Linked DNA regions of Homo sapiens: regions 1, 3, 4, 5, 6 and 7 are each linked to region 2. Evidence: promoter capture Hi-C in human tissues and cell types (Jung and others, 2019). All regions are on one chromosome and are shown on one strand. The core of a region is centred on a gene start or on the middle of the fragment in contact, and the rest is flanking DNA. Distances in the headings are between cores, read along the strand shown. Region 1 overlaps PAFAH1B1 (platelet activating factor acetylhydrolase 1b regulatory subunit 1). Region 2 holds the start of TSR1 (TSR1 ribosome maturation factor). Region 3 overlaps CCDC92B (coiled-coil domain containing 92B). Region 4 overlaps RTN4RL1 (reticulon 4 receptor like 1). Region 5 overlaps PAFAH1B1 (platelet activating factor acetylhydrolase 1b regulatory subunit 1). Region 6 holds the start of CLUH (CLUH binding protein of NUMT mRNA). Region 7 overlaps PAFAH1B1 (platelet activating factor acetylhydrolase 1b regulatory subunit 1).

Evidence for each region. Contacts are between HindIII fragments. The study calls those that stand out against the background at their distance.
Region 1: a fragment that was not itself captured here is called in contact with the fragment with the promoter of TSR1 in region 2 in 7 of the 25 tissues and cell types used here (H1 embryonic stem cells, IMR-90 fibroblasts, dorsolateral prefrontal cortex and 4 more).
Region 3: a fragment that was not itself captured here is called in contact with the fragment with the promoter of TSR1 in region 2 in 1 of the 25 tissues and cell types used here (H1 embryonic stem cells).
Region 4: a contact is called between a fragment that was not itself captured here and the fragment with the promoter of TSR1 in region 2, in 2 of the 25 tissues and cell types used here (IMR-90 fibroblasts and bladder).
Region 5: a fragment that was not itself captured here is called in contact with the fragment with the promoter of TSR1 in region 2 in 4 of the 25 tissues and cell types used here (bladder, heart right ventricle, hippocampus and 1 more).
Region 6: a contact is called between the fragment with the promoter of CLUH here and the fragment with the promoter of TSR1 in region 2, in 1 of the 25 tissues and cell types used here (dorsolateral prefrontal cortex).
Region 7: a fragment that was not itself captured here is called in contact with the fragment with the promoter of TSR1 in region 2 in 1 of the 25 tissues and cell types used here (hippocampus).

Annotation. Positions count from the first base shown.
Region 1 is chr17:2,636,869-2,640,063 of GRCh38, forward strand. PAFAH1B1 (platelet activating factor acetylhydrolase 1b regulatory subunit 1) reads left to right here. Exons shown (of 11, transcript NM_000430.4): 2 at 1,231-1,452. The coding sequence starts at 1,421. Among named protein-coding and RNA genes, the nearest start is that of PAFAH1B1, 45 kb to the left of the region's middle. The HindIII fragment of the contact is 4,031 bases long and covers 1-3,195 here.
Region 2 is chr17:2,334,709-2,338,173 of GRCh38, forward strand. TSR1 (TSR1 ribosome maturation factor) reads right to left here and starts at 1,749. Exons shown (of 15, transcript NM_018128.5): 1 at 1,623-1,749; 2 at 1,329-1,432; 3 at 803-1,022; 4 at 552-686; 5 at 1-188. The coding sequence starts at 1,719. SGSM2 (small G protein signaling modulator 2) reads left to right here and starts at 2,793. Exons shown (of 24, transcript NM_014853.3): 1 at 2,793-3,037. The coding sequence starts at 2,981. RefSeq lists an enhancer at 1,917-2,026 and silencers at 2,257-2,386, 2,417-2,726, 2,827-2,936, 3,037-3,136, 3,167-3,465. The HindIII fragment of the contact is 7,910 bases long and covers 1-3,465 here.
Region 3 is chr17:2,726,756-2,729,764 of GRCh38, forward strand. The region is part of intron 3 of CCDC92B (coiled-coil domain containing 92B); the gene reads right to left. Among named protein-coding and RNA genes, the nearest start is that of CLUH, 16 kb to the left of the region's middle. The HindIII fragment of the contact is 6,490 bases long and covers 1-3,009 here.
Region 4 is chr17:1,980,870-1,984,063 of GRCh38, forward strand. The region is part of intron 1 of RTN4RL1 (reticulon 4 receptor like 1); the gene reads right to left. Among named protein-coding and RNA genes, the nearest start is that of RTN4RL1-AS1, 35 kb to the right of the region's middle. RefSeq lists enhancers at 1,366-2,207, 2,208-3,049. The HindIII fragment of the contact is 8,412 bases long and covers 1-3,194 here.
Region 5 is chr17:2,613,641-2,616,701 of GRCh38, forward strand. All of the region lies in intron 1 of PAFAH1B1 (platelet activating factor acetylhydrolase 1b regulatory subunit 1), which reads left to right. It also overlaps the pseudogene SAMD11P1. Among named protein-coding and RNA genes, the nearest start is that of PAFAH1B1, 22 kb to the left of the region's middle. The HindIII fragment of the contact is 6,951 bases long and covers 1-3,061 here.
Region 6 is chr17:2,710,304-2,713,529 of GRCh38, forward strand. It overlaps CLUH (CLUH binding protein of NUMT mRNA), which reads right to left and starts at 1,461. Exons shown (of 26, transcript NM_001366661.1): 1 at 1,259-1,461. The coding sequence starts at 1,358. LOC105371592 (a long non-coding RNA gene) reads left to right here and starts at 2,006. Exons shown (of 2, transcript NR_136412.1): 1 at 2,006-2,096; 2 at 2,179-2,530. RefSeq lists enhancers at 20-99, 934-1,830, 1,831-2,726 and silencers at 1,340-1,459, 1,590-1,769. The HindIII fragment of the contact is 23,363 bases long and covers 1-3,226 here.
Region 7 is chr17:2,678,162-2,681,340 of GRCh38, forward strand. It overlaps PAFAH1B1 (platelet activating factor acetylhydrolase 1b regulatory subunit 1), which reads left to right. Exons shown (of 11, transcript NM_000430.4): 10 at 2,003-2,159. It also overlaps the pseudogene RN7SL608P. Among named protein-coding and RNA genes, the nearest start is that of MIR6776, 13 kb to the right of the region's middle. The HindIII fragment of the contact is 7,278 bases long and covers 1-3,179 here.

The DNA of each region.
Region 1 (3,195 bases), core at 322-2,821, 300 kb after region 2:
CACCATCACACCTACCTAATTTTTAAAATTTTCTGTAGAGACGGGGTCTCCTGTGTTTCCCAGGCTGGTCTTGAACTCCTGGGCTCAAGTGATCCTCTTGCCTTAACCTCCCAAAGTACTAGGATTAATTACATATGTGAGCCACCACACCCCGCCTCTCATTCTTCTTTCTTCACTGGCTTATTCATTACTGTATTCTCAGTGCCTGGAGCAGTGACTGGAATGGCATTTGAAAGGTACTCAGGAAATGGTCCTTAACTCTTCTGTCCATGATAGGTTTCTAGATTGGTTGTCCCACAGGATCTTCATTATATGTTAATTTCATATCATTTGGAGGATGATTTTTTTATTGCTTTGAATTGCCTCTTCCAATCAAATTTTATATATACCAGTAGCCTCTATTTTAAGTAAGACCATCTCAAATACATTTCTTAATTAGGTACATTGGTTAAGAGAGCATAAGATTCCAGCACTTTGGGAGACTGAGGCAGGAGGATCCCATGAATACAGGAGTTTGAGACCAGCAATGTAGGGAGACCTGTCTCTACAAAAAAAAAATTTAAGAATTAGCTGGGCATGGTGGTGTGTGCCTGTCGTCCCAGCTGCTTGGGAAGCTGAGGTGGGAGGATCGCTTAAGCCCAGAGGGGGAAGGCTGCAATAAGCTGTGATCATGCCACTGCACTCCAACCTGTGTGAGAACCTGTCTCCAAAAAAACAATAAAAAGCGTAAGATTGCTAAGTAGTGTATGTTATAAATACCGGCCATTCTAAGGTTATTGGTGACTAACACTCAACCTTGAAGGTTACTTCAGTTATAGTTGGCACTGTTCGGCTTGTGCAGTTCATGAAACCCTTATCTGTTTTACCTTTTATACCTTTTTTGTAAATTTGAAATTTTACTTTTTGTCTCTAAGAGAGAATTACATTCGTTTAGAGTTACATGTTAATATTTGAAATCAAATGTATCTGGCAGGTTAACATGATTGGGAGTGGGTAAATGTATGTTAAATTTAAAAGTAATGCTGTTTTGGCTCATTGAATTATTAATTTAAAAGACAAAACAGTATGGTTTTTGACATTAGTTGACTTTCACTATAAGTGGAAAATCATCATCTAATATTTATACTAACATCACAATAAAATTTATCTTTGAAAATGAGTACTGTAACTAATAATTTAGAAATAAATTTTAAGTGAAATAATCTTTTTTTTTCTTCTCTTTCTCCTTAGGTGGAATGAATCTTACTTGTTGAATATCTTCTGGTTACTAGTTGGATTCATTTGTGAAAGAATCATTTTCCCCTGTGTGGAAGACACTTAGTGGCATATTTAAATTATAAGTCCACGGATCAAAAAGCTTTTTGATTTCCCAAAGGAGGGACATACCACTATATCAGATAAGCTTGACATTACAGCCAAGATGGTGCTGTCCCAGAGACAACGAGATGAACTGTAAGTTTCTTTGTTTTGTGCTTTAAAAAAAATCTCCCTCATGAGAGAGAAAGTAGTAAATTAAAATACAGCTTTGGGAGGTCTCTTCTAAGATTAAAACTATTTTTACCAGTGTTCCAATATTAGTTTAGGCAGTTTGGTCTGATTTTAAAACAGTCTTATTATGATATAGCATTATTTTTAAAATTTATTTATTCTTTCTGAGAAGGAGTTTTTCGCTTTTGTCACCCAGGCTGGAGTGCAATGGCGCCATCTCGGCTCACTTCAACCTCCGCCTCCCAGGTTCAAGCTATTCTTCTGCCTCAGCCTCCCAAGTAGCTGGGATTACAGGCACCCGCTACCATGCCTAGCTAATTTTTGTATTTTTAGTAGAGATGGGCTTTCACCATCTTGTCCAGGCTGGTCTCGAACTCCTGACCTCAAGTGATCCACTCACCTCGGCCTCCCAAAGTGCTGGGATTACAGGCATGAGCCACTTTGCCCGGCCGTGATACAGCATTATTCACCCTTGTGACTTGACTGTATGTAAGTTTAACGCAAAACAGACAAGTCAGTTGGGATGAGTTTTACCCTAAGCTTATTTTTATTTTTATTTTTGAGATGGACTCTCGTTCTGTCACCCAGGCTGGAGTGCAGTGGCGCAATCTCGGCTCACTGCAAGCTCTGCCTCCTGGGTTCACGCCATTCTTCTGCCTCAACCTCCCGAGTAGCTGAGACTACAGGTGACCGTCAACACGCCTGGCTAAGTTTTGTATTTTTAGTAGAGATGGGGTTTCACCGTGTTAGCCAGGATGGTCTCAATCTCCTGACCTCGTGATCCGCCTGCCTCGGCCTCCCAAAGTGCTGGGATTACAGGCGTGAGCCACCGCGCCTGGCCCCTAAGCTTATCTTTTAAAATATTATGTTCAATAGGAAGTTAGGTGCTTCATAGCTCCTCTAAACCTTTTTTTGGTGTGGAATCTGTGCATTAGAAAAATGAAAGCTGTTTTGTTCTTGTTATCACTGATGTCTTTCCTTTGCCTTGTTGTGTTTCTTTTATCTTCCAATGGCCATTACAGAATTTGAAGAATTTGAACTTTATGAGGTAGCTAATAAAATAATTAATGCAGATGCTTTAATGAGAGAGGTGTGAAATGGTTTGACCTCTTCTGTTTTAGAGTATTTTATAGCATTCCATTTTTATAGGTGAAGAACATAGGGGGATTTTCCACTCCCCCGCTTCACCTGACTAGCTTTAAAAACATAAAAACAAAACGGGAAAATGTAGCTTTATGTTCTACTTCTTTTTTTTTTTGAGATGGAGTCTTGCTCTGTCGCCCAGGCTGGAGTGCAGTGGTGCAATCTCGGCTCACTGCAACCTCCGCTTCCAGGGTTCAACCAATTCTCTTGCCTCAGCCTCCCAAGTAGCTGGGATTACAGGCGCCTGCCACTGCGCCCAGCTAATTTTTGTATTTTTAGTAGAGAAAAGGGTTTCACCATCTTTGCCAGGCTGGTCTCTAACTCCTGACTTCGTGATCCTCCTGCTTTGGCCTCCCAAAGTGCTGGGATTACAGGCATGAGTATGTTCTATATTTTTACAATTAAAAAAAAAATTTTGTGGCTTTTCAACAATTTTTATTTGGAAGTAATTTCAAATTTATAAAGTTGCAAGATTAGCACAAAGCATACTAATGTTTTTTGAAATACACCCATTGTTAACATTTTGTACCATTTGCTTTATCATTTGCACTCTGTGTGTTGGGG
Region 2 (3,465 bases), core at 499-2,998:
ATCTCGAAAAGCAAGATGCTGTTGCTTCTGGTTAGCCAACTGCCTAAGCAGCATCCCTGCCTCCTGTTGAGTGTCTAACAAGAGGAGTTTGTCATGCGGAAAGCGCTTCTCCACTGCTTTACTTAGCTTCTTCCTGGTATCTATTTGTTTCTTCAGTGGGAGGCCAGAAATCCCCTGGACAGCTAGTGCTGTAAGCGAAAGAGAAAACGCTTCATGACCTACTGCTTCATTACATAAAAATCCCTCTGCAGTTCACAAACAACCTAATAGCTCAGTTGCAAGCCCAGAGATCACTGGGAAGCCCAACACTGAACTACCCTGAAGGAATTTCACAGTGAAATCAAACTTCATATCCTTGTTTCTCTGGGCAAAGGACAGCCAAAAACAAAAAGACACCCTGAGTGATAATCTGTAAACAATGGATCAAGTTTAATCCATATGTGTACATCCCACCACCAGCTGAATATGATCCATCAGTTGTATTCCTGTATCAAATACCAGGCATAGTGCCTGACAAATTAAAGGTGCACAATAAATGCTAACTCACTTACTATAGGTCGGAAGGCCCTGAGCAAAGAGGCAGGAAAGACAGTAATCACCGGTGCTGTCCCAGCCTTCTAGTGGATCAAGGAGGAACAGGATGGTATCAGCTACTTTAGCCATGTCTAACACAACGTGCAGATCCCCTGCAGATAGAAGACACAGTAAGAAGAGGTGGTTGGCACCAGCACATTATTCTAAAAAAAAAAAAAAAAAATACCACTACTCAAACATAATACAAAATATTGGTGTATACTCTAACCTGGCCTTGCTGAGGTGAAAAACCACCGATGTTTCAAGCGGGGGCACAGCAGCATAAAGTTCTGGGTGTTTCCCAATTCATTCAAGTGTACTGTTCCAGTGTCCCTATCTTGAAGCAGCTGCATGGCCTCTGGCAGGGAAATTCTGCTGTGCAGGGGCACCACCAGTACCTGATGAGGAGGGCCATCCTTGCCACCCAGCTGTCTCTTCTCTGCCAGAACCTGAAAATAGAAAGATATCCGAGAACATCTCAGTGTCTCAGTACTTCACTCCAGCATTGCATTTCCACTCCCACAGATGCTCCCCCTACCCAAAACCAGCATCTCTCTAGTAAAAGACCACAGGTATGCCAGCGGGGTGGCAGGAATTCTGACCAAAGCAAAGAATGCTAGACCTGCACGCTCGACACGTGCTCTAGGGCTATGCTCTGTCCCTGGACCCTCCTCCCGGTCTCATTTTCCACTTCGAGGCATTAGCCACCTAGAACACCAGAGAAGCCGCATTCTCCCAAATCCCGCTCCTCTCACCGCCTCCTTCTTCTGCTTTCGGAGCTGGCTGGCGCGATGCCTCTGGTCGACTCTGCTGAGTTCTTTTCTCACCTTCTTGCTTAGGGTTTTCAGTGCCAGACGGCCTGAATGGCAGATTAGAAGGGGCTGGTGTGATCGGCCCCACAAGGTCAAGAAAAGGGACTCCTCTCCGCCCACCTTAGAAAGGGCCTTTCGCGTGGAGCCCAGACGGGAGACAGAAGCTCAGTCTGGGCATGAGGAAAAAGAGTTAATAACGGCCAAATAGCCCTTATTCCTTCTACGTTATCTCCTTACCCTTGCCGTCCCGCTGTGCAGATCCCCGACCCCGATGCCGTCCGCCTTTATGAGCTTTATTCTGCTGCTTGAGCGGGCCGGGGCGGTGGGCCGCCATGCCGCAGCGCGCGTGTACGGAGTCAGCACTGCTTCCGGGCCAGGACAAGCGCTTCCGGTCCCCTCCAAGGGGGCGGGCCCTCCAGGGAGCGGGACTCCCTGCGCCCTCTCGCGAAGGTCTTTTCCAGCAGCTCGTGAGAGCGCCGTGTTAGCGGGTTCGCCAAGCCGCGCTGGGAACTTTTCCCACTTCGCAGTGTGTGGTTGGGGGCTTGAAGGCGCCGGATGTAGACTGTCGAGGCTCGGGCTGTTGGTCTAGCAGGGCTGTTTGTACCCCTTGCATTGTCATTTTTTTGCGCTATAAAGCTGCATCACGTAGAAGCATGTTGACTGGAAGGCTCCATTCGTGCCGAAAAGGCCTAAGCCCTTCCTGTCACCTAGATTCGGGCACGTTGCTCTTCCGTTTGCAACGGCATGTTCTTTATCACTCTGAGCAACCTTTCTTCTCCCTCGATTCCCTAGCGAGGCTTGGGAATCGCGTGGAAGACACTTCTCTCACCTTGCCCGGTTCCGTACCAGCTCAAGCCCGTCCCTGTTACTCCAACCTGCGCCCCGCCTCCCACGGAGCGGCCGGGAAGGACCTTGTGGGACGTGGCGACCCGGCAAGGGGGACTGGCCGCGACCCTCCGGCCGTCGGGCTCGGGCGGCTGCGCTCCCACTAATCTTCCCAGAAACTTGACAACTGCACGGCGACGGCCGGACGGGGATTCAGAGGGGTCACGGGGCCAGGCTGCACCGGCTTCGCCGTGGGCAGGCTCGGACCGCAGGGGACCCCATGCCCGAGCCCCGGCCCTTTCCGTCCCGTCGGGAGAGGGAGCAGGCAGAAGTCAGGGGAGCTTCAGCGGGACCGAGGCTCGCTCTCAGCCGCGGGGCCGCGGGCTCCAGGGCCAGCGCTCACAATGCGGCTTCGCGCCCTCCATGCGGGAGCGGGTGCGTTGCCATGACAGCGACCCCCGTGGCGCGCGCCCGGGTCTGCCGCCCCTAGGCGCGCACGGCCTCTCCCCGCCCCGATCCCCCGTCGCTGTGCGCAACCCCCCTCCGGCTGTGGGAAGGGGCCGGGCCTGCCGCCTGACGTCTGTGCGGGGCTCGGAAGATGGCTGCGGAGCCGAGCACCGGGCAGTGGCTGCGGCGGCGGCGGCGGCGGCGGGCCGGGAGCGCGGCGGGCGGGGGCTCCGCCTTGCGCGTGGGGCGCTGAGCCGAGAGGCGCGGAGGCGGCGAGGGCGCGGGGGCTCTGAGGACCGCTCGGCGCCGCCTCCTGCCACACCATGGGCAGCGCAGAGGACGCAGTCAAAGAGAAACTGCTGTGGAACGTGAAGAAGGAGGTAAAGTCGAGTCAAGAACCCCGGGGGGCTCGCGCCCTGGCCCGCGCGGCCCAGGGGGCAGAAAGGTCCGCGCCCACCCCCCGGCGCGGGCACCCGGGCCGAACCTGGGCCGGGCGGGGCGGGTCCTGGACGGGCTGCGCCTCCTTCCCCTTTCTCGGATGGGGGAGGGCAGCGCCCCTCTGCCCGGGGGACCCGGCCGGCGCTCCCGGCTTGTTTGCTTCGCAGCCCCGCAGCTCCCCGCCCAGTGACGGCAGCGGCGCTGGGAGCCCAAGGCCGGGGGAGGGGTGGCGGCGATGGCGGGGATGGCTGGATCCGGAGCTGCCCATTCAGTGCCCGCGCCGCCAGGGGAGGGGGCGGGGCCCCGCGCGAGCTCCCGCGGCGCAGGTGGGTGTCGTGCGGGCCGAGCTTCCCCACGTCCTAAGTGGGTG
Region 3 (3,009 bases), core at 188-2,687, 390 kb after region 2:
GGCACCCGCTACCACACCCAGCTAATTTATTTTTGTATTTTTACAGATGAGGTTTCACCATATTGGCCTGGCTGGTCTCAAACTCCTGACCTTGTGATCCACCCGCCTCGGACTCCCAGAGTGCTGGGATTACAGGCGTGAGCCACCACGCCCAGCCCTTTTTTTTTTTTTTTTTTGAGACAAAGTCTCCCTCTTGCCAGGCTGGAGTGCAGCGGCATAGCTCACTGCAGCCTCTATCACCTGGGCTTGAGTAATTCTCCCACCTCAGCCTTCCCAGGAGTTGGGACCACAGGCATGCACATTTTTTGTAGAGATGAGGTTTTGCCATGTTGCCTGGGCTGGTCTCGAACTTGTGGGTTCAGGCAATCCTCCTGCCTCAGCCTCATAAAGTGCTGGGATTATAGGTGGGAGTCACCGTGCCTGGCCACATGTTTGTCATTTTTTGTTTACTTGTTTATTGTTGGCCTTTGCCACTGCAGCAGGTTTCAACCCTGGATAGACATTAGAACCACCCAGAGAGCTTTAACCAGTGCTGTTTCCTGGGCGCTATGAAAGACCAATTGCACCAGCATCCCTGGAGCTGGACCTGGGAACTGGTGTTGCTTAAATCTTCCCCGGTGGTTCTCACGTGCAGCGTGAGTTGAGGACCCCTGCCTCCTGGAAGCTCCATCTCGGCAGGACCATATCCTAGGACTTGGCACAGGTGAGTGTAGGGACGTAGGCAGCCGAAAGTGGCAAAGAGTGACCCTGGAAGGATGAAAATCACCAAGTGATAAGAGGACAAAGAGGGCTGGGTGCAGTGGCTCACGCCTGTAATCCCAGCACTTTGGGAGGCCAAGGTGGGCGGATCACAAGGTCAGGAGTTCGAGACCAGCCTGGCCAGCATGGCGAAACCCCGTCTCTACTAAAAATACAAAAATTAGCTGGGTATGGTGGTGTGCGCCTGTGATCCCAGCTACTTGGGAGGCTGAAGTAGGAGAATTGCTTGACCCTGGGAGGCGGAGGTTGCAGTGAGCTGAGATCGCGCCACTGCACTCCAGCCTGGGCGCCAGAGTGAGACTCCGTCTCAAAAAAAAAAAAAACGAAAGAGGACAAAGAAAGTTCTTAAGCCCAGTGGGTTGACACACTCATCCCAGTGACTCAGGGGAGGGCTGAGGTGGGAGGATCTCTTGAGCCCAGGAGTACAAAGCTGCAGTGAGCTATGATTCTGCTACTGCACACTACAGCCTGGACAACAGAGCAAGATCCTGTCTCTAAAAAAAGAAAGAGTTCTCAAAGCCCATTGAAAGAGCCAGGCACAGTGGTCGTGCCTGTAATCCCAGCACTTTGGGAGGCTGAGGGGGGCAAATTGCTTAAGCTCAGGAGTTCAAAACCAGCCTGGGTGACATGGCGAAACCCCTCTCTACAAAAAAGCTGGGCATGGTGGCATGTATCTGTAGTACCAGCTAATCTCGAGGTTGAGGTGGAAGGATCTCTTGAACCCACCTAGGAGGCAGAGGTTGCAGTGAGCAGAGATGGTGCCATGGCACTCCAGCCTGGGTGACAGAGTATGTCTCAAAAAAAAAAAAAAGGCCAGACGCGGTGGCTCATGCCTGTAATCCCAGCACTTTGGGAGGCCGAGGTGGGTGGATCACGAGGTCAGGAGATCTAGACCATCCTGGCTAACACGGTGAAACCCGTCTCTACTAAAAATACAAAAAATGAGCCGGGCGTGGTGGCGGGCGCCTGTAGTCCCAGCTACACGGGAGACTGAGGCAGAATGGCGTGAACCCGGGAGGCAGAGCTTGCAGTGAGCCGAGACCGCACCACTGCACTCCAGCCTGGGCGACAGAGCGAGACTCCGTCTCAAAAAAAAAAAACAAAAAAAACAAAAAGATGAAGACATTGGATTGGGGCAGTGGCTTGGGCCCAGGTGATCTCAAAAGCCCTTTCAGATAAAGGACAGTAAGTGGGGTGAAAGTGGCTGTGTCACAGAACTGTCCTAATCTAGTGTCTGGGGCATGTGCTGCCTTCCTCCAGCCACCTAGGCACCAAGAGGTTGCCTGTGGTTGTCCTCTAAAGAGGGCAGGATTAGTCCAAGTTCGTAAGTGTTTAGATGGTCTGTAACTGATCTTCATGCATGAATACACAAAGCAGTTTCTAGGGTTCCTAACATCATAGCTTAAACTTCCAGCCTGTAGCATTTGATCTATAAGCAATACATCAGTATGGAAGAGAGTCTGTTCTTAAGAACTCTTCTGGCCAAGAAAGACTTTTTATGATTCCTTTTAACATTTTTTTAATATTAAAAAAAAATGGTAGGGACAGAGTCTTACTATTTTGTCCAGGCTGGTCTTGAACTCCTGGGCTCAAGTGATTCTCCTGCCTTGGTTTCCTAAAGTCTTGGGATTACAGGCGTGAGCCACCACACCTGGCCTTGTGATTCATTTTTAATTAAATAGTTACTATGTCCTGGCCAGACTCGGTGGCTCACACCTGTACTTCCAGCACTTTGCAAGGCTGAGGCGGGTGGATCACCTGAGGTCAAGAGTTTGAGACCAGCCTGGCCAACATGGTGAAACCCTGTCTCTACTAAGAAATACAAAAAATTAGCCGGTGGATGGTGGTGTGCGCCTGTTGTCTCAGCTACTTGGGAGGCTGCAGCAGGAGAATCACTTGAACACGGGAGGTGGAGGTTGCAGTGAGCCGAGATCGTGCCACTGCACTCCAGCCTGGGCGACAAGAGCGAGACTCCGTCTCAAAAAAAAAAAAAAAAAAAATTACTGTGTCCCTCCAAGTCAGGTAACGTGCGTTATACTTCAGAGACAATGGGTAACACTCAGTCCTAGTTCTGAGATCTTATAATCTGATGATAAAGATCTCAAGAATGCAATTAAAAAATTAATTGTGGGGGAAAAAATGACAAAATTTAGCATCTTAACCATTTGTAGGAGTACCATTCATTACTGTTAAGTATATTCATGTTGGGGTGCAGCAGATCTTTAGAACTTTTTAATCTTGCAAAAGTAA
Region 4 (3,194 bases), core at 159-2,658, 350 kb before region 2:
TGTGCGGAGATCACACCACTGCACTTCAGTCTGGGCCACAGAGTGAGATTCTATCTCAAAAAAAAAAAAAAAAAAAAGAAGTGGAGCAGAGTTTCCCAGGGGGCCAAAACTGGCCCCTGTCCCTGGCTGCTTCCTGGAGCCACACTCATCAGGCAGGAGGCACTGATGGGGTAAAGTGCTCCACAGGAGCCCCTTGTGACCCACAGGGAGTCACAGTGCAAGAGGCCAGCAGTTTCCTGGGAGCCTCGTGCCTAGGACATTGGCAGCACTTTGGGAGGCTGAGGAGGGAGGATCACTTGAGCCCAGTTCAAGACCAGCCTGGACAACATAAGGAGACTCCGTCCCTACAAAAAAATTTAAAATTATCTGGGTATAGTAGTGCACACCTGTAGTCTCAGCTACCTGGGAGGCTGAGGAGGGAGGATCACTTGAGCTCTGGGGGTCAAGGCTGCAGTGAGCCGTGATCGTGCTACTGCAACTCCAACCTGGGTGACAGAGTGATACCTTGTCTCCAAAAACAACAACAACAAAAACCTAGAAATGAAGCTGACTCCATCTTGGTATTTTTTTCTTTGCATAACTCTGCTTTCCAGAGACTTTAGGGAAAGGGGACTGCTGGGCCTTCCCTCCCTTTTGCCCTGCGGCTGCCTCGTGTGCAGATTGGCTGTGCTGAGGTCTTCCCTCCCTCATGCCCTGTGGCTGCCTCGTGTGCAGATAGGCTGACCTGGTCCACCCTGAGCAGCCTCACACGAGTCACTGCCTCCTTCCAGCTGAGCCTGCTCCAGCCTGAGCTGTGGCTGACGTGCTGGTACACACTGCCCTGGGAGCTGTGTGCCTCAGCCTGGACTGCTGTTCTCCCAGGAAGCTCTAGAACCCACAGTGCAGTGTCTGGGACACAGCTTGTACCCAACAAGCACAGTCATGCATCACTTAATGACAGGGTGTGTTCTGAGAAATGTATCATCAGACCATTTCACTGTGCAAACATCATAGAGTATACTTACAGAAATCTAGATGCTAGAGCCTACCGCACACCTAGGCTATATGGGATAGCCCACTGCTCCTAGGCTACAAACCTGCACAGCACGTGCCTGTGCTGAACACGGCAGGCAACTGTAACACAAGAGTGAGTATTTATGTATTGAAACTGGCCGGCACGGTGGCTCACGCCTGTAATCCCAGCACTTTGGGAGGCCGAGGCGGGTGGATCACCTGAGGTCAGGAGTTCCAGACCAGCATGGCCAGCATGGTGAAAACCCATCTCTGCTAAAAACTACAAAAATTAGCTGGGCGTGGTGGAGAGTGCCTGTAATCCCAGCTATTCAGGAGGATGAGGCAGGAGAATCGCTTAAACCCAGGAGGCGGAGGTTGCAGTGAGCTGAGATCACGCCACTCCACTCCAGCCTGGTGAACAGAATAGGACTTTGTCTCAAAAAGAAAAGAGAAGAGAAGAGAAGAGGAAGCCGGGCGAGGTGCCTCGCGCCTGTAATCCCAGCACTTTGGGAGACCGAGGCGGGCGGACCACGAGGTCAGGAGTTCGAGACCATCCTGGCTAACACGGTGAAACCTCATCTCTACTATAAATACAAAAAAAAATTAGCCAGGCATGGTGGCGGGCGCCTGTAGTCCCAGCTACTCGGGGGGCCAAGGCAGGAGAATGGCATGAACCAGGGAGCGGAGGTTGCAGTGAGCCGAGATCGCGCCACTGCACTCCAGCCTGGGGGTCAGAGCGAGACTCCGTCTCAAAAGAAAAGAAAAGAAAAGAAAAGAAAAGAAAAGAAACTCTGGGAAGGGGCAGTTCCACAAACACCGGGCCCTCGACGCCGTGCAGGAAGCCCTCCCCTCCTGCATGGAGGTGGACCGCCAGGCTCCCCGACAGCTCCAGGTTGCTGGGTAACCCTGAAAATGGAGTGAGGAAAGTTCGACAACTTGCTGACCCAGAGGAAGGAGGAATGGGGTGGCTGAGCAGGAGGTAAAGCGAACCTCAGGGAGGGGCAGCGGCTGACAGTCACTGTGTGCCACAGGCTGGGCTCCCTTTGCTGTGAGCTCCTTGAAGGGCTGGGTTTTCCCCAGTTCTCTCTCAGGCACCCCGCAGGGCAGCAACCCGCAAACTGGGCAAGTGCCTCTGGGGGGCCATTTGGTGGTGGAGCTATGCTGAGACCTCACATTCTTCTTCTTCTTCTTTTTTTTTTTTTTCCTGAGACAGAGTCTCGCCCTGTCACCCAGGCTGGAGTGCAATGGCGCCATCTCGGCTCACTGCAACCTCCACCTCCCAGGTTCAAGCGATTACAGTAGCTGGGATTACAGCTGGGATTACAGGCACCCGCCACCACACCCGGCTAATTTTTGTGTTTTTAGTAGAGACAGGGTTTCACCATGTTGTACAGTCTGATCTTGAACCCCTGGCCTCAAGTGATCCACCTGCCTCAGCCTCCCAAAGGGCTGGGATGACAGGCGTGAGCCGCCACACCTGGCCGAGACCTCACATTCTTCTGAGGATACTTGTCCAGTAATGACACCAGCGGGGGCCAATTGACAGTGATACTAACAAAACATCCGCAAGCCCTTCCCAAGACGCTGCACCTAATTCGGGAACGAGGTTCACTGCAGCCTTCGCCTCCTAGGCTCAAGCGATCCTCCCACCTCAGCCACCCGAGCAGCTGAGACCATAGTCACACAGCACCACGCCTGGCTAACAGCTTCTATTTTTTCTGTAGAGACGGGGTCTTACCAGGTGTGTCCAGGATGGTCTCAAACTCCTGAGCTCAAGCGATCCTCCCACCTCAGTTACCCAAGCAGCTAAGACCATAGGCAGGCACCACCATGCCTGGCTAACATTTTCTATTTTTTTTGTAGAGACGGGGTCTTACCCAGTGTGTCCAGGATGGTCTCGAACTCCTGGGCTCAAGCAATCCTCCCACCTCAGCCTCCCAAAGTGCTGGGATTACAGGTGTGAGCCACGGCGCCGGGTCCTGAACCTAACTCCGTACTCATGACTCGTTTTCATAACGGGGTCCACAAAACCTTTAGGCTCCACCCAATCCGGATCGGAACCCTGCTCCCTCCCGGCTGGGACATGTAAGCTGGTTTCCCCTGGTAGAACCAGGCTGGAATAAGGGCTGGCCGGAGCCCTGAGGCCGAGGAAACCCCCAGATCATGTCTCAAGGCCAGCTGTATACACCAAATGCAGGTGG
Region 5 (3,061 bases), core at 31-2,530, 280 kb after region 2:
GAGTATACTCTCCACAGCCAGACAGCCGCCCCTCCGCGAAGCTGCAGACATCATCCATGGTCCACTTGCTGACGTCCTCAAGGGCTGGGGCCTCCTCCCCATCCACAGAGAGTCCCCCTGTGGCGCTGGGCCAGGTTCTGCTTCTGCAGGAGCTCCTGATGCCGGGCGAGCATCTCCACTCGGGCAGGGGCAGGAATCCGTAGCCTGGGATCTGGCACAGAGGTGAGGGCACTCCCAGAAAGGGGGGCCTGAAATGGGGGCCCAGGGTGATGTGAGGGGCATTCTGGGGCGACAGCAAGAGGGGGCGGCTGTGGCAGCTCCTTGTCAACAGTAGCGCAATGAGCGGCCTCTTTATATATTATATATTGTTTATATATTGGGTTTTTTTTTTTTTTTTTTTTTGAGACGTGGGTCTGGCTCTGTCGCCCAGGGTGGAGTGCAGTGATGTGATCACAGTTCACTGCTGCAGCCTCAACCTCCCAGGCTCAAGCTATCCTCCCACCTTAGCCTCCTGAGTAGCTGGGACCGCAGGTGTGTGCCACCATTCCTGGCTAATTTTTAAATTTGTGGTAGAATGAGGTCTTGCTGTTTTGCCCAGGCTGATCTCAAACTCCTGAGCTCAAGGGATCCTCATGCCTCAGCCTCCCAAAGTGCTGGATTAGTGAGCCGTGGCACTTACCTAGCCAGTATATTGTTTATTGTTGCTTTCTTACTGCAGTGGCAGAAGAGTTGCTACAGAATCTGAATGGCCCACAAAACCTAAAATACTTACTATCTTTGCAGAGTTTGCTGACCCCTGGTCTAGATACAAAGGGGAGAGAACATAAGATAGAAAGCAGCAAACTTAATATAGATGCAAAGAATGTGTCTGTATTACAACATCCCAGGAAGACTAGATAGTTATATAATGAACAAGGCAACTGTGTTTTCTTCTTGAAGGATTTTTAAAGACGACTTTTATAAAAGCTCTGTTGCCTAGGCGGGAGTGCAGTGGTGTCATCATGGCTCACCAAAGCCTTGAACTCCTGGGCTCAAGTGATCCTCCCACCTTAGCCTCCTGAGTAGCTAGGACTACAGGCACATGCCACCATGCATGGCTAGATTTTATAATTTTTTCTTTTCTTTTTTTTTAGAGATGAGTCTTGCTGCGTTGCCCAGGCCGGTGTTAAACTTCTGGCCTCAAGCAATCCTCCCACCTCAGCCTCCAAAGGGGCAAAGATTATAGTGCACCACCATTGCAGGCCAACATTAAAGTAAATTTAAAGGAAAAAAGTGACCCACAATCTTGAAAATCATACGAAAACAGTCAATGTTTGTCCTCACATTCCTTCCCACTATTTGTGGCATATGCAGTTGGCCGTCCATATCCATGGGTTTTGTACTGTGGATTCAACCAACTCCAGATTGAAACTATTCAGACAAAATGATAGTTGTGTCAGTACTGAACATGCAGTTTTCCTGTCATTATTCCCTGAACAATACAATATAACAACTATTTACATAGCTTTTATTTTTTTAGGTATTCTAAGTAATCTAGAGATGATTTAAAGTATATGAGAGTATATGTGTAGGTTATATGCAAATACTAAGCCATTTTATATAAGGGATTCGAGCATTGTTTTATTGGTATCCGGGGGGTCCTGGAATGACTGTACATGTGTATAATATACAACAACTGATATCAGATAGAAAGTACAAGGAAAAAGCGATTTATGACAAAATCTAAAGTCATAATTCAGTTTCTTTAGAACCTTTAGGTGTTCAAAATGGCTTCATTTCGAAGACAAAAGTAGGAAACTTTCTTTCTTTCTTTTTTTTGAGATGGAGTCTCACTGTGTCGCCCAGCCTGGAGTGCAGTGGCACAATCTTGGCTCACTGCAACCTCTGCCGCCCGGGTTCAAGCGATTCTCCTGCCTTAGCCTCCCGAGTAGCTGAGACTGCAGGGGCCTGCCACCGCGCCTGGCTAATTTTTCTATTTTTAGTAGAGACAGGGTTTCACCATCTTGGCCAGGCTGGTCTTGAACTCCTGACCTCATGATCCCCCTGCCTTGGCCTCCCAAAATGCTGGGATTACAGGCGTGAGCCACCGCGCCCAGCCTGAAACTTTCTCTTTTTAGAGGGGCAGTGAAGAAGTAGTCTTTGAGCACCCATCAACAAATGAACACATCTGGGATGAAGATTGTACCTAACATGTTTGATCAGTCTGGTGTGGCAATAAGGATGCACCCAGGAGGTGATAAGGAAATCCAGGAGGTGATAAGGTAGACAGACTGAGAAAGAAGACACAAGGAGAGAAAAGTAAAGAGAGGAAAGATGAGCATTAATGAGGGTGCTTACAAGCGGCAGAGGCAGTGAATACAAAAACTTAGTGGAAAGAAAGCAACGACGAAACAAGAATAGGATGAGTTCTCAGTTACCTACTTTATTCTTCAAATAGCCCTTATTCAGCACATCTTTCTTGTTTGTTGTAGAATGGAGAGCAGTTTATTACATTTGATAATCCTTGAAAGCATTAATTTGCTTGGAGGGTACCCAGGGAGTAGAGTTCAAGCAGTATGAAGAGTGAAGAATATTCATTCTGGTAGAGTTTAGTGACAGACTAAGCTTATATTAATAACGGTTCTATATTATAGAAGAATACTACTGCTGGAGTATGGCAGTATATTAGGTTTCTCCAGAGAAGCAAGGCCAATAGGGTGTGTGTGTGTAGAGATTGACTGGTTGATTGATGTTTGAGGAATTGGCTCATGCTATTGTGAAGGCTTGCAAGTTCAAAATCTGTAGGGTAGGCTGACAGGCCGGGGACCTGGGGAAGAGGTGATGTTGCATCTCAAGTCCAAACGCAGTCTTTTGGCAGAATTCTATCTTACTTGGGAAATCAGTCTTTTCTTTTTCTCTTAAGGTCTTCAACTGATAGAATAAGGCCCGCCCACATTATAAAGATAATTGACTTTACTCTGAGTCTGCTGACTTAAATGTTAATTGTATCTGAAGAAATATCTTCACAGCAACATCTAAACTATTGTTTGATCAAATATACTGGGCCTAGCCAAGTTGGAAT
Region 6 (3,226 bases), core at 211-2,710, 380 kb after region 2:
TGCTCTTCTGCCCAAACCTTGGCCTTGTCTAGACAATCAGCAGTACTGCCCCAGCACCTGTCCCTCACCCCAAGGCAACTCCGCTATGATGGGAACAGGGTCAGAGGGCTGAACGCTGTCCCCATCCTGATTCCCAAGTCAGCCCTGGCGCACTCACTGAAGCTAGGAAGGGAGATGATGAGGCGTTAAGACCACAAGTCCCAACTGAGGACAGTCGACGGAGGAGGGAGGGACTGGGGGACAGGAGTAGCTCTGCACCTCCACTGCCACCCAGAGCAAAGAGGGCCTGAGGAAGATGACGACTGAGGGCCTGGGAAGGGGATTCCAGCCCCAAGGCTGGAGTCTGAGACACGGTGGAGGGAACAGAAGGAAGAGAAGGGGCTCAGGAGAAAGGGAAAGCAGGCCCCACCCGAGACAAGCTGCAGCCACTGCCACAGTCACCACCATACAGCCCCCATGGGGGATCGCTGGGAGCTTGACTCCACACTAACGACCTTTGCCTTAAAAACAGCAACTCTGGTCTGACCCACTTTTCGCAATAAGGCAGGTTAATGATCAAGTTCTGGCACAAACACTTCCCCCTGCCAAGGAGTTTGGCTCTGCCCCATGCAAAGGCAGACGCCCCCTACACCAGGTCGGCCGAGCAGGCCAACACACCTGAGAGTCTCCGCCACAGCCTGAAGACCTGCGGTTATAGCCTGGCCTCAGGGCATGAACCAGGGACGCCCCTCACAACGCACACCCCGCACCTCGTGCTCTTCCCACAAACCAAGCCTGGGAAGCCTCGAGCGGAGCTTCACTCCCAGGGCTGCAGCCCTGCGCACAGGGGATGCCTGGGAGGCCGCCGCGGAGCAGGTGCCGAAGGGGGCTGTCCCGCAAACGTCGGAGCGACCCCAGCTCAGAGAGCTCCCATGCTCGGGCGCAGAGGGGGTGGGGCCGCCGATTCTTTCGGTCTGCGGCGGCGGCGCACCCCGAAACCGCGTGTGCGCGCACGTGTCCCCGCGATGAGGCGCGCGTGTGCCCGCCGAGGGTGCCAGCCGAGGCTGCCCTCCACGGGACCGCACGTGCGAAACCCGGGCCGCAGCCGGGGGCGACTGTGAAGGTGACCTTCAGCGCGGGGGCGACCCGGTGAAGGCCCCAGCGAGATACAACCGGGCCCGACGCGGAGGGAAGGCGGCGATCCCCGCGGAGTCCCGAACCCGCCCGCCCTGGTCCGGCGCCCCCCGCCCAGCGGCCCGCTGGCCCTGGCCCCGCTCACCGGCCGCGCCCGGCCGCCCCTTGCCCCCGGCCTGCGAGCCGTGTTCCCGGGCGCTGTCGGCCGGGGCGGCCGCCGGCAACTCGTCCGTCTTGATAACCATGGTGGCGGGAGCGGGCGTCCGCCTCGGCTGTCCGCGCCGCCCGCCGCGCCACTAACCCAAGTGCCCTGCGCGCCGCGGCTGCTGAGGGAAGGACGGAGTCACCGGCCCACGTGGTGCGCGCCGTGGCCTTTGACCCCGCCGCCGTTTCCCTGCCCCACCCTCGCGCCCGGCCCAGCCCACGGCGGCCCGCGAGGGACAAAACGCGCCGCGCCTGGTTCCCCGCCCACGGACGCGGTGACTTTCCAGAACGTCTTAAAGGCAACGCACTCTGACTCAAGGCCCAGGGAGGCTGGGCGCCCTCGCGGGGCGGGGCCTCGGGGAGACTCCCTGCTGCTCGCTGCCCGTCGGGCGGGCACTGTGACCTTGGGTGGAGACTGGTCTGGTTCTGCCATGGCTAATCCTCCCCTCTCCAAGGATCCCCTGTTTTCTCTTGCAGATTTGCTAAATGACCGCGCAGTCTGTCATCTGCGGTGTTCGCGTGACCCTCAGCGCCCTCCCCACCCGGCAGGCCCTTTCCCGCCGAATGGGTGCGGCTGGATTATTGAGGGAGTGGAGGGTCGCTTAGGGCACGGGCACGAGAGGCGAGGGCGAGACGTGGCTAATGGGGATCAAGAGTCAGAATGGACCCGCCAAACTTTGCCCCGAGCCAGAACGGGCTCCCTACCCGCGTCCTCGACCCATGGGTCCTCACCTCCAGGCTGGTGTCCTCATTTTACAGTGGAGGAGGCCGAGACCAAGGTCACACAGAGAGCAAGGGGTAGAGCCGGGTCTGACTCCATCCACAGCCAGGACGCTTTAACTCGTATTTTTCACTTGGCAGGGGCTTGGCGGGGACGGAACGGTGAGGTCAGAGAATGCTGCAGAGGGGACATTGGGACCAGGTCTTGCAGTGAGTTGAAGTGCTCCAGGCAGAGAGCGCCGGTGGGTCTTTCCTGGCCAGGCCGCAGGGGGCCTTTGGGAAGCACCCGAGGCCTATAACCTTCGGAGCGTTTGTCAAGCTCTAATGAGAACTGGAAAGCTTCAGCTTCCCGAGGTGGGCTGGGAGGGCCTTAGGTAGGGCCTCGCACAAATTGCGAAGGAAAGCCGACCTTGTTCTGGAGAGCACGTGGTGAGGAAAGCCAGCGACTTGATGTGAGCATTTAAACGGGAGGAAGGAAGATGAGAACTGGTAAGATTCTTCTCGGCCGGGCGGTGCAGCGGCTCACGCCTGTAATCCTAGCACTTTGGGAGGCCGAAGCCAGGCGGATGACTTGAGTTCAGGATTCGGAAGTTTGAGACCAACCTGGGCAACATTTCAAAACCCCCGTCTCTACAAAAAATATTGTTTAAAAAAAGCCAGGTGTAGTGGCACGCGCCTGTAGTCCCAGCTACTTGGGAGCTGAGCTGGGAGTATCACTCAGGACGGCTCAGATTGAGCCCAGGAGTTCCAAGCTGCAGTGAGCTATGATCGCACCACTGCACTCCTGCCTGGGTGACACAGACACCGTCTCAAAAAAAAAAAAAAAAAAAAAGCCGGGCGCGGTGGCTCACGCCTGTAATTCCAGCACTTTGGGAGGCAGAGGCGGGCGGATCACGAGGTCAGGAATTAGAGACCAGCCTGGCCAAGATGGTGAAACCCCGTCTCTACTAAAAATACAAAAATTAGCTGCGCATGGTGGTGTGCGCCTGTAGTCCCAGCTACTCGGGTGGCTGAGGCAGAAGAATCGCTTGAACCCAGGAGGTGGAGGTTGCGGTGAGCCGAGATCGCGCCATTGCACTCCAGCTTGGGCAACAAGAGAGAAACTCCGTCTCAAAAAAAGAAAAAAAAAGTGTGCATATATATATATAGTGTGTGTATATATATATAGTGTGTATATATAGTGTGTATA
Region 7 (3,179 bases), core at 628-3,127, 340 kb after region 2:
GAGGCCGAGATGGGTGGATCACCTGAGGTTGGGAGTTCGAGACCAGCCTGACCAACATGGAGGAACCCCATCGCTGCTAAAAACACAAAATTAGCCAGGCATGGTGGCACATGCCTGTAATCCCAGCTACTTGGGAAGGCTGAGGCAGGCAAATCACTTTAACCTGGGAGGCGGAGGTTGCAGTGAGCCAAGATCACGCCATTGTACTCCAGCCTGGGCAACAAGAGTGAAACCATCTCAAAAAAAAAAAAAAAAAAACCCGGGCATGGTGGCGCACGTCTGTAATCCCAGCTACTCGGGAGGCTGAGGCTTGAGAATCGTTTGCACCTGGGAGACGGAGGTTGCAGTGAGCCGAGATCGCACCATTGCCCTCCATCCTGGGCAGTGAAGTAAGACTCTGTCTCCAGGAAAAAAAAAGAAAAGAAACAAGAAAAACATACTCTTGGCCAGGCACAGTGGCTCACACCTGTAATCCCAGGACTTTGGGAGGCCAAGGCAGGAGGAGCCCAGGAGTTTGAGACCAGCCTGAGCAACATAACAAGACCCTGTCTCTACCAAAATAAAAGTTTAAAAATTAGTCATGCATGATGATGCATGCCTATAGTCCTAGCTACTTGGGAGGCTAAGGCAGGAGGATTACTTGAACCCAGGAATTTGAGGCTTTAGTGAGCCGTGATCATGCCACTATACTCCAGCCTGGGCAACAGAGTTGCTGTCTCTTTTTAAAACAAAACAAAATTTTGCAGTGCTGTGCTATAACTGCACTATCCAGCGTGGTAGCTACTAGCCACATGCAGCTATTATACTCTTGAAATGTGGCTAGTGAGACTGAAGAACTGAATTGTTGGTTGTATGTAATCTTAATATTATATATTAAAGTAGGCGTACATGGACAGTAGCTACCATGTTCAACTGTGCAGTTCTAAGCCTTTTTCTTTAATGTGTAGATGAATGTGCTATTTTTTATAAAAATGGTATCATGCCCCTTAAGGTAGCTTTGTAGCAAACCTTTAATTTAGAAAGTATGTGATCCTTGCTTATGTTGTTAGATGCTCTTCTACACTGATCTACAGACAATGCTTTGTGAACATCTTTGCTAACTAAATCTCTGGGCATGTCCTTAAAGATAAATTGCAAGAACAGAACTGCTGCGACAGGGGAAATATGGATGGATAGATGGATGGATGATTAAATGGATGGATGATTAGATGGATGAATGATTGGATGGATGGATGGATGGATGATTGGATGGATGGATAGATGGATGATTGGATGGTTGGATGGATAGATGGATGATTGGATGGATGGATGGATGATTGGATGGATGGATGGATGGATGATTGGATGGATGGATGGATGGATGATTGGATGGATGGATGGATGGATGGATGATTAGATGGATGATTAGATGGATGATTGGATGGATAGATAGATGGGTGGGTGGGTGGATGGATGGATGATTGGATGATTGGATGGATGGATGGATGGATGGATGGATGGATGGATGGATATATAGATATATAGTGAATGCCTGTATATCCTTCACTTAGTTACCATTTGTTGGTTTTCCTTCATGTATGTGTGTATATTTTGCTGAAATCATTTGAGCGTTCTTTGCAGACATCGTAACACTTTACCCCCAAGTATTTTAGCATGAACCACCTAAGAACAAGGATAGTATATAAATAACCAAAATAAAATTATTCACACTCAAGAAATTTACCATTGATAGACTACATATTGAGATTTGTTCTTGTTATTTCCATAATGCCCTGCGGGACTTCTTTTTAACCCTCATCCAGGACCCAGTCAGGGATCGTACGTTATATTCACTCCTCATGTCTTATGAGTTTTCAGTTTCCTTTAATCTAGAATCCCCTAGACTTTTATTTTCTTCTGGTCTTTTGATGTTTTTGGTATGTATAGTTTTATCGTATTATGAAATAGATGCTATTTAAACATTTTGCCTTTTACTGAGTCAAATAACTTTTTTGTTTTTAAGGTGGGTCATGATAACTGGGTACGTGGAGTTCTGTTCCATTCTGGGGGGAAGTTTATTTTGAGTTGTGCTGATGACAAGACCCTACGCGTATGGGATTACAAGAACAAGCGATGCATGAAGACCCTCAATGCGCATGAACACTTTGTTACCTCCTTGGGTATGTACGCCTCGCGAGGTCTCTGAACATTAGATTTTGGAGTGCCAGACAAACTGTGTTTTACATAATCGTGTGGACTTTGCCAGGTAAGAAATGACTGTGCTTTCAGGGCAGAATAGAGAAGACATGAAAATCTTGTGGATTCCTACCATTTGTTTTAAATTCTCCTTTCCCGTTAACTCTTTCCATCGTTAGCCTTATAATAAAAACATTACTTTCTCCACTGCACAACATTGGTTTTGGAAACCACAATTTGTGAAGAGGTTACTTACCACTCTGATGGGTAATTTTTCTCCCCTATTAGTTTGTTTCTCAAACAAAATCTTCCTCAACCTTTCCCACTGGCAGGTGTATACTATCAGATACTAGAAACTCAGAAAATTGTATTTGATTTGAGTAAACATCCTCACTATCATCTGGACTTGAATCTGGAATTTAAGAGAGTGAATACAGTCAAGTATAATAAATGCACTAAAGTATAATGGACCAAAGCCTGCGTAAGGTGGGCTAATACCTGCCTCACAGGATTGGTTCAAGGATTAGGCACAAATACGGAGCATTTATGCCATGCCTGGAACATCGTGTTCAGTAAATGGATATGGCGAGACTGTGTATTGTTAGATTTGAGCCCTGCTGTGCCTTAGTCCCAGCTACTCAGGAGGCTGAGGCTGGAGGATTGCTTGAGCCCAGGAGTTCTGGGTTACAGTGTGCTGTGCTGATGGGATGTTTGCACTAAGTGCAGCATCAATATGGTGACCTCCTGGGAACAGGAGACTCCCAGGTTGCCTAAGGAGGGGTGACCTGGCCCAGGTCAGAAACAGAGCAGGTCAAAACTCCCTTGCTGATCAGTAGTGGGATCGCACCTTTGAACAGCCACTGCACTCCAGCCTGGGCAACATAGTGAGACCCTGCCTTTGAAAAAAGAAGAAAAAGGATTTGAGCCCCATTTGGGATGGGCCAAAGAGGAACAGGCGTTTTTATTGAGATGTTAATACAGGATTTGATCATTGAGTCTCAACT